Linked DNA regions of Homo sapiens: region 2 is linked to region 1. Evidence: promoter capture Hi-C in human tissues and cell types (Jung and others, 2019). All regions are on one chromosome and are shown on one strand. Each heading gives the region's core, a stretch centred on a gene start or on the middle of the fragment in contact. The rest is flanking DNA. Distances are from core to core; before and after follow the strand shown.

What was found. The method cuts DNA at HindIII sites, captures the fragments that hold promoters and counts their contacts. A contact is called where the count stands out against the background at its distance.
Region 2: a contact is called between a fragment that was not itself captured here and the fragment with the promoter of SLC22A12 in region 1, in 1 of the 25 tissues and cell types used here (liver).

The regions. Positions count from the first base shown.
Region 1 is chr11:64,587,698-64,592,540 of GRCh38, forward strand. SLC22A12 (solute carrier family 22 member 12) reads left to right here and starts at 3,523. Exons shown (of 10, transcript NM_144585.4): 1 at 3,523-4,261. The coding sequence starts at 3,860. The HindIII fragment of the contact is 41,401 bases long and covers 1-4,843 here.
Region 2 is chr11:64,543,481-64,548,232 of GRCh38, forward strand. No RefSeq gene overlaps it. Among named protein-coding and RNA genes, the nearest start is that of SLC22A11, 10 kb to the right of the region's middle. The HindIII fragment of the contact is 7,372 bases long and covers 1-4,752 here.

The sequences.
Region 1 (4,843 bases), core at 2,273-4,772:
CATGAGAATTGCTTGAACCTGGGCAGTGGAGACTGCAATGGGCCAAGATGGCGCCACTGCACTCCAGCCTGGGCAACAGAGCAAGACTCTGACTCAACTTAAAAAAAAAAAAGTGGAGAAAGCTGCATGAGAAGCATTTTTTTGGGAGAGCTCAGCTTTGGCCACACTAAGTGTGAGATGTTTATTAAGCACCTAAGATTAGGCAGTTGGATCAAAATCTAGCATTCCAAGAAGAGGTACAGGCTAAAGATGTGAATGGACCAGATGATAGAGAATATAGAGAAGACCAAGGAGTGAGCTCAGTGGCCTCCAATGTTAACAGTGTGTGGAGAAGAGGAAAACCCAACCAAGAAGATTGAGAACTAGTGAGTCCTGGAGGCCCAGGGAAGAAAGTATTCTCAGATGGAGATCAGAGACAGATGGCTCAAGTAAGATGAGGACTGAAAATGTCATTGAATCTAGCAGCATGGAGGTCATTGGTGACAGCAGAGTGATAGGGGCAAAACCTTGATGGGAATGAATCCAAAAACAAACAAAAAAATGGGAAGACAGAAACTGGAAATGAGTGTCAATAATACTTTCATAGAATTTTGTTGTAAATACAAGCAAAGGTGGGGCAGTCGCTTAAGAAGAAAGAGGGGCTCAAATGGAGGGGGAGTTTTTGGAAGGCTACAGAAAAAAATGGCATATTTGTACATTGGTGGAAATTATCCAGTAGCGAGGGAAAGACAAATGCCAAAGAGAGATGTGAGCAGGCAAAGGGGGGTGGGCTCTAGGCACACAGTGAGGGGTTGGCATGGATGAGAGAGAAACCAAACTGGGTGGAAGGAAGGCAGAATGTGGGGGCACCAAGGCAGGTGAGCTGGTGAGAGAATTAGACTGTTGGCTTCTGATGGCTTCTATTGTTTTAGTGAAATAAGAAAAAAGGTCATCTATTGAGAGAGAGGATAGAAGAGAAGGTGGTAGGTTTGAAGAGAGAAGATGGTATCAAATAACCCCTGGTTTGTGTGTTCAAATATAAGGGTAACAGAAATAAAACGTACAACTGACAGACCAAGACAGTAGAAGAATATAACAAGAAAACTTAATGGATTCAGTAGAAATTAGGAACAAGGAAACCAAGATTTAAAGGGAAAATGTGGTAAACAAGAAAACATACAGTAAGTCCAAACATGTCAATAATTACAATAAATGTGAACAGGTTAAAATCGCTAATTAAAAGGCAGAGGTATTTCTTTTGGATTTTACAAAAGGAAATGTAAAGCTTATTTGGCAGCTCAAGCTGATGAAGCTAAACATATCAGTTACTAAAACAAAGTCTGCACATATTTACACCAAACTGTAAACAGTAGTGTAACTCACTGGTTGATGAGTATATGAGGGATCTTTATTTTCATTTCAATATGTTCTGAATTTTTGAGGAAGTGTGTAAATTATTTCATAATTAGAAAATAAATGAAATTTTTAAAAAAATCATCCATGCACTTCAGCAAGTCTCCATGGAACCTTTATTTGTTGTCCAAATCAGTTCCAAAGAGCCTCTAAAGAAGGGTTCCAGACTACCAGGAGCTCACTGGAAATAAGACCAACTGGACCATAATAGAAGAATGCAGGTCATGGCTGGGTGCCGCAACTCACACCACTTTGGGAGGCCAAGGCAGGCAGATCACCTGAGGTCAGGAGTTTGAGAAGAATGCAGGACAGTGTAAAGATGAGATTCCACTGACAACTCTGAGCCCTAGTTGTAGGCAGGAATAAGTGAAGAGAGCCCGCTGGAGGAGGAGTATTTGGACTGTGCCCATTCCACACAGTATGTGGCCTAAGGGTGAGCCTGGAGACAGCATTCCAGGCTGGAGGTCCAACATAAGCAAGGGTGGGAACTGAGAAAGCATGTACAGGGCATGTGGTGGAAGCAGTGGATGACTCAAGGTGCAGAGCCCAGGGAGGCAAAGAAGTTGGCTTGGTAAGCCATGTGGAGGGGCAGCGGGAAGAGTCGGTGAAGCAAAAAGAAGCAGATGGGAGGGGCATTTATGCCTCAAATGGAGAGTTTTATGCCCAAAGCTCATAAGAGCAAACACCTGGGTTGCCATCACTGCTGCACTGCACATATACGCATGCACACATGTACACACATGCACTTGTGCAAACACATGTGCACACATACACAGACATGTGCACACACCCACATATACATACACTTCTTTTTTTTCTTTTCTTTTTTTTTTTTTTTTTGAGATAAGAGTCTTTCTCTGTCAACCAGGCTGGAGGGCAGTGGTGCAATCTCAGCTTGCTGCAACCTCTGCCTCCTGGGTTCAAGAGATTCTCCTGCCTCAGCCTCCCAAGTAGCTGGAATTACAGCTGTGCACCACGACCATGCTCAGCTAACTTTTGTATTTTTAGTAGAGATGGGTTTTTGCCATGTTGGCCAAGCTGGTCTTGAACTCTTGACCTCAAGTGATCCCCCCACCTCGGCCTCCCAAAGTGCTGGGATTACAGGCATGAGCCACCACGCCCGGCCATGCACACACACTTTTTAACTGCTTTGTGTTCTCTGGCCCTTTCGCCTACAGAATTAGCTATCGAGACCAAGGGGGTTCTCTTGGCCTCGGTCCAGCCTTTCCTGAACCCCACACCCTGCATCAGCACACACTGCTGTCCACTCACCTGCCCTAGTAAGTCACCACTAGCTGTTGTTGACTGGGAGCCCCTTGGCTTTTAAGCAGGATTTGACCCAAGGGCTCGCAGTGCGTGGTGGGTCCAGGGGCAGGAGTTGAGGCAGAAAGACAAGGGCAGGGACAGCTGTGGAGTGGGGGAGGTGGGAGAGAGAAATCCTTAGGAGGCAAAACTAGCCAGGCTTGGCCCCTGGTGGATTTGGGAGGCAGGGAGCAGGAGGCGTGAACCAAGACGCTGGGTTCCAGGCCAGACACTGTGACATGAGAGGCCATAGCTGAGGTGGGGCTCTGCAGGAGGCATAGATTTGGGGAGGGGACAGAGATCTCAGGGTGGCATTGGGCACACCGAACCTGGGGAGTCTGTGGGGTGTCTGTTGATGCTGGGAAGCTCCACCGAGGACTCAGGACAGGGTAACAGCAAAGCGGGCACAGGACGCCAACCACAGCAGGTGAGTGGAGGCAGGAGCCACGGGTGGGGCCAGGCCACACAGCCTGGGAGGCGCAGGGGCTGGGCAGCTGCCAGTGACCCAAGCCCACACAGAGACTTGCACAGCTGCCCCAGCCCCAAATTAGGGGGATCCCCTGGCCCACCTTCTCTTGGCTCAGCCACTCTGGGAGGTGGGCACACAGGGGCACCGAAGGGAGCAGGCAGCCCTGGCATCCCACAGCCGCCAGGAGAAAAACTTAGGCCTCCCCAAGACCTGGCACAGAGCAGGCCGGCCCTGGCCCCCAAGCAGAGGAGGCTGCACCTCCCTCGCGTCTGTGCCTGCCTCAACGCGGGTTAAACTTTGACCAAGGAAATGATTGCTAAACTCGATTCCATAAGTGTCACCGGTCACACTTTAATTCCAGTCTAAAATTAAAGTCTTCAGTCTCCACATTCCCTACTTTCCAAATTCAGCTTTCCCGGGAGGTCTGGAGCAGCTGCCTCTCTGGGGAGATGCTGGAGGTCTCGGAATCACCTCACGCGGCCTCAGGGCCCAGTTGGAGCCACCCCAAGTGACACCAGCAGGCAGATGACCAGAGAGCCTGAGCCTCCGGCCCCGAGTCTGTGAAGCCTAGCCGCTGGGCTGGAGAAGCCACTGTGGGCACCACCGTGGGGGAAACAGGCCCGTTGCCCTGGCCTCTTTGCCCTGGGCCAGCCTTTGTGAAGTGGGCCCCTCTTCTGGGCCCCTTGAGTAGGTTCCATGGCATTTTCTGAACTCCTGGACCTCGTGGGTGGCCTGGGCAGGTTCCAGGTTCTCCAGACGATGGCTCTGATGGTCTCCATCATGTGGCTGTGTACCCAGAGCATGCTGGAGAACTTCTCGGCCGCCGTGCCCAGCCACCGCTGCTGGGCACCCCTCCTGGACAACAGCACGGCTCAGGCCAGCATCCTAGGGAGCTTGAGTCCTGAGGCCCTCCTGGCTATTTCCATCCCGCCGGGCCCCAACCAGAGGCCCCACCAGTGCCGCCGCTTCCGCCAGCCACAGTGGCAGCTCTTGGACCCCAATGCCACGGCCACCAGCTGGAGCGAGGCCGACACGGAGCCGTGTGTGGATGGCTGGGTCTATGACCGCAGCATCTTCACCTCCACAATCGTGGCCAAGGTAGGGCCTCCCCCAGAGCCACTCGAGTCCCACCACCTTGGAGGTCAGTCATGGATCACGGTGGGTCAGACTCAAAGGTCCAGTCCTGGGAGGGACCCACCTCCCCAGGCCCCACTCACTCTCGAGCCTCTCAGCCCCTCGTCAGCCACACACAGGGAAGTGGGCGGCAGGGATCAGTCTACAAATGGGGCCAGCCCAGGCTCTTGGAGGTGCGGGGGGCACCTGGGCGGGCACCTCTAAATGCTGGCACCTGGACACTCACCGGCCTCACCCTGTCCTGGCCCTGCTGACCTGTCAGCCGTGACTCCAGGCAACTCAGCAGCAGGGGGACTCAGTGACAATTCACTGGATTCCCCGAGACCAAAGCACACAGAGTAAGGGATTACCCCAGGCTGCCTCCCAGATGGGGCGCCAGGCAAAGCCAGGCAAGCAGAGAGGGGCAGCTCATCCCAACAAGTGGGAAGAACCTCTTTATAAAGAACAGGAGGGAAGCAACCTCTGGGAGAGGGGTGAGGGTGTCAGCTTGGGTGGCTGCTTCCAAGTGGAGAGACAGGAGAGAGGGGCAGATGTGGCTAGAGACCC
Region 2 (4,752 bases), core at 1,580-4,079, 45 kb before region 1:
CTTTACCTGCATAGGAATTGGCAGAGCTCTCAGGCTGTCAATAAAGATCTGCTGATTGAAATAATGAATGAGACTGGGCACAGTGGCTCACACCTGCAATCCTAGCACTTTGGGAGGCCAAGGAGAGAGGATTACTTGAGCCCAGGAGTTGCAGACCAGCGTGGGAAACATAGTAAGACCCAATCTCTATTATTTTTTTTTTTTAATTAGCTGGGCATGGTGGCTGCATCTGTAGTCCCAGCTACTAGGGAGGCTGAGGCAGGAGGATTGCTTGAACCCAGGAGTTTGAGGCTGCAGTGAGCCATGATGGCACCACTGCACTCCAGCCTGGGCAACAGAGTAAGACCCTGTCAGAAAGAAAGAAAGGAAGAAAGAAGAAAGAAAGAAAGAAAGAAAGAGAGAGAAAGGAAGGGAGGGGAAAGAAAGAAAGAAAGGAAAGAAAGAAAGAAAGAAAAGGAAAGGAGGGGAAAGAAAGAGAGAGAAAGGAAGGGAGGGGAAAGAAAGAAAAAAGAAAAGAAAGAGAAAAAAGAGAGAAAGAAAGAAAAAGAAAGAAAGAGAGAGAAAGGAAGGGAGGGGAAAGAAAGAAAAAAGAAAAGAAAAAGAAAGAAAAAAGAGAAAAAGAAAGAGAGAAAGAAAGGAAGGAAGGAAGAAAGAGAGAGAGAGAGGAAAGGGAAGGGAAGGGAAGGAAAAAGATGAATGAAGGCCAAGGTAACCTATAAATTGCAAGAGTTATGGTGGACATTTAATGTACAAACCTACCTCCATTCTTGGAGTTTAGACATTTCACCAGGCATGTGCCAATTTTTCATCCTTGCTACCCAAAGCTACTGGGATGTTGCAGTCTAAACGTTTCCATCTTCTTCAGCTCAGAGGTCCTTTCTTTTCTTCCTTTTCAACTCTTTGTGCTTTTGCACTGGGTTCCAGGAAACTCCTTTGTCATGAACTTCCAGGTCACTGTATTCCCCTCATTATTCAATCTATTAATTAGTGGTTTCAGAATTTGCCCATCAAGTTGACAATTTCCAAAACTGAAAAGATTTCCTTTTCTCGGGAACCTATTTCTTTTAAAAAATTGATGTCCTCTCAAATTTCCCTGGAAATAGAAACTACAGCGGTTTTACCTTTTTCTTCTGTTTACTGCATTACTTCATCGTCCTCCTGTGTTGGTTCTTTTGTTTGTTGAGTTTGGTGTCTCTCTTTTGGTGCATTGGATTCTTGCATTTTTAGTGTTTCTTTGTTGCCTCTTCATATTTGAAGATGGTGGGGGGAGGGATATGGACAAAATTGTTTCCTAGAATGTCCTTCCTCAGGCTAAGTGGGAATTCCTGTTGGCTTAGCCATGCATGAAAGCTTTGTGCTGGAGAACCCTGTCTACAGTGATTGTGACGTGTGGGCAAGTGAAAGAGGCCTGTGGCCAGGAGGCACTGGTGGATCTGATTTTCTGAGTAAAGGGTTCTGCTTCCCCATGGGATCCTTAAGTTGCCTGGGGTGCTGCCCTTTTTCTCTGGCCTACCATGCAGTTTCAGAACTCCATTTAGCTGTTCTTGCACCTTGACCTCCAGGCAAACATGGAATTCAATGCCAAGTGGTGTTTGGTGGAGGGAGGGTGGGGCACAGTCAATCTGCTCACCCTGATGCTGTTAATTACCCAGATGTTCTTGGCCTGTGCCCACACTGCAGCCTCTCACCTAGTGCTGTCCTCCTAGGAAGGCTCAGGTGTTTGGGCCTCCTTTCCCTCCTGCATGTGGTGCAGGTCCCTTGGTCTGAGGTTTCATTGTCCATCTGTCCCATGATCTTTATGTCTTATGCAGATTCTTTCCCTAGTTTTCCATTTCTCACCTTTCCCATGCTGCTCTGGGACTGCCAAACTATTTCCTTTCTGGATCCACTTGGATTTGGTTGGAGGAGGTAAATGAGTGCCCCACTAGCCATCCTGAACCGTGAGCCCCTCCATGTCCCTGGGAAAACAGAGAGCTGTTTGACCCAGGAGACCTGTGTGACCCAGAGCTTCGGGTTCTTGCACCTCTTGGGCGATGTCACCCAGTAGGTTCCTTAAGGGCAGGATCCTTAGTTGGCAAAGAAGTGGCTGAGTGAACTCAGTCTGTAGCTAGGTTGAGACCAATGAAGAGAAGGGTCTGAAGTCTACCTGCCGCCAGGGCAAGGGCGCATATGTCAGGAAGAGTGGGAAGGGGGGCTGGGGAGAACGTATGCCCCCAGGCTTCTGCCTCTCCAGTTGTCTGCGCAAAGAACAAATCCTAGTGCGCTGTGGCAGGGGCGGCACGTCTGTTTGCTCTCACGTGCCACTCCGTTCCTTGCTCCATTGCCTGATGATGCAGAGGATAGGAATGGACTTGGCCATGGCGCGCTGCCAGCCTGCATGGTGACACACATCCCCTCGCTTATTCAGCAAGCACTGAGTAGGCACCTCCAGTGTGCAGGCAGGGCTCAGGCACCAAGGGGTTTAGTGATATGCGTTCCCATCTGCAAGGAGCTTATATTTCGACGGAGAGGCTGCCATGGAAATAAACATAAAGTCCCTCTTGGAAACCCCTTCCGAGGAGATAGAAGGTGTGGAATAGTCGTGGCTGTGGAGAATGGTCAAGGCCAGGGCGTCTTAAACTTCAGTGGGCACACAGATCACTTGGGGCTCTTAGTAAATGCAGATTCTGATTCTGGAGGTCTGGGTTGGGATCTGAGATTCTGCCTTTCTAAAGAACTCACAAGTGACATTGATGCTGCTGGTCCATGGACCACACTTTGAGTAGCAAGGGTAGAGGGAAGCCCCAGCTTCCTGCCATGTCCTGATGCTGTCCTGTGGGTGCTGGGGGCACCTGTGGGAACCCACCAGGAACTGCTGCTCCGGAGGCCTCTGAAAGAGGCCCTGTCCCAACCCCAGGCCCAGGGGCAGGCTGGAGGCCGGTTTGCAGGTCAGCCTGGGCTGCAGGTCCCCCACTGCCCTTCATGCTGCTCCAGAGGAAAAGTGCTGGGAGGTGGCTTTGCCTGGACAGGACACAACCCAGCAGCTGTGGACTTGGTCAGGGAAGACCTCTCTTCAGAATTTTGGGGATTGGCTCTGTTCTTGGGGGAGGCCTGGGTCAGATGATGTTCTGTAGCCGTCCACACAGCCCTGGGGCTTCAGAGCTTGTAGTAGGGTCCTCGTGAGCACTGAGTGAGACCTCCGCAGGAAGCTAACACAGGGTGGGTGCCCAGGGACCCTTGGGTGTCTTGGGGGCCAGATGACTCAGCAGCAGTCACTGCTGCCATCGGGCTTGGCTCTCTCAGGTCACTCAGGGTCAAGGTAAAGTCTCCAGGCAACTGGAGAGTCATGCCCTGCTGCCCATGACAGTGGCTCAGGGCCAGGTCAGATGTGGCCATCCTCGGGACCATGCTGGGAACTGTCTCCCTAACCAGGGAGCTCTGGGGCTCCTTTCAAGGTAGCGAAGGATGCTGAGCCATAGTTAATAGGCTTACAGGTTAATCCAGCATGTGACCAGGACAGGCGTGTGCTTCGGCGGGTGGAGGTCAGGATGCTGCCCCCTTACCAAAAAGAGATGCTCTGAAGTTCTGGAACTCTGTGCATGCCATTGAGATCGCCACAAGAGCCGGTGAGACTTTGCTAGGACCATGAGGCACTCTAGGCAGTCCCTGCCCATCCACCTCTGGGCTGGAGTGCAGTGGCACGATCAGGGCTCACTGCAACCTCCACTTCCCAGATTCAAGCAATTCTCCTGCCACAGCCTCCCAAGTAGCTGGGACAGGCGAGTGCTACCATGCCCAGCTAATTTTTGTATTTTTAGTAGAGATGGGGTTTCACCATGTTGGCCAGGCTGGTCTTGAACTCCTGGCCTCAAGAGATCTGCCTGCCTTGGCCTCCCAAAGTGCTGGGATTACAGGCGTGAGCCACTGTGCCTGTTCCCCACCTCTTTAAAATGTATTGAATTCACATTCTCCTCACCATCTCCACAGTCTGTGCCCCGTTCAGGCCAGGAAAAGCCTCTTCCTGGTTCTCCTCTCTGTAGCCCTGTCTCATCTGAGCCCACCTTACATTTTCATCCACCTGAGACATTCTCCTAGTAATCAGACCCTCCTCCCCCATCTTTCCTGGTCTGGCCTTGGGGCCTTTGCATGTGCTGTTCTTGCTCCCGGAACACCCATCCTCACCTCCCCACACCCTTTCAAACCGGTGCTTTCTCTCAGCTCTTTCTTCTCTGTACTTCCTAGTTATGTTTCTGGCCTTTGTCTTGTGGTGTGTTGGGTTGGCTGATATTGCATGATCAGCCCTGATGCAGTGGTTTTTACATCCGTCTCCCCACTGGACGAACCTCCTTGCTGGTTCACCTTGGGTCTCCAGGGCCCAGCATGGGGCCTGGAACCTTGTACACCTTTAATACATGTTTGTGGAGCTGACACGATGATGAATTCTTTCACAACTTTCAGATGTGTATCTGTTAGGTGGAAGGAAATTGCTGGGAAACAATTTTCAGAACTAAGTGCATTTGCCGTTGCGCTTGGAGAAGCCATTTAACTTCTCTGAGCCTCACTACCCCACCAGACACCCACCCGTGCAATTGTCCTGAGCATGACCGGGGCGGGGGGTGGTGCCAGTGATCAGCAGGGGGCAGGCTTGTCATTGCAGGGCTGCCACTAACCAGCTGTCGCACCCCACCAAAGAGGGTTGGGAACCCTGCGTTAAGTTGGGTCCCCTCCAAAGCCAATATGAAATAAAGATTTGAATGTAAGTCATTTATTTGG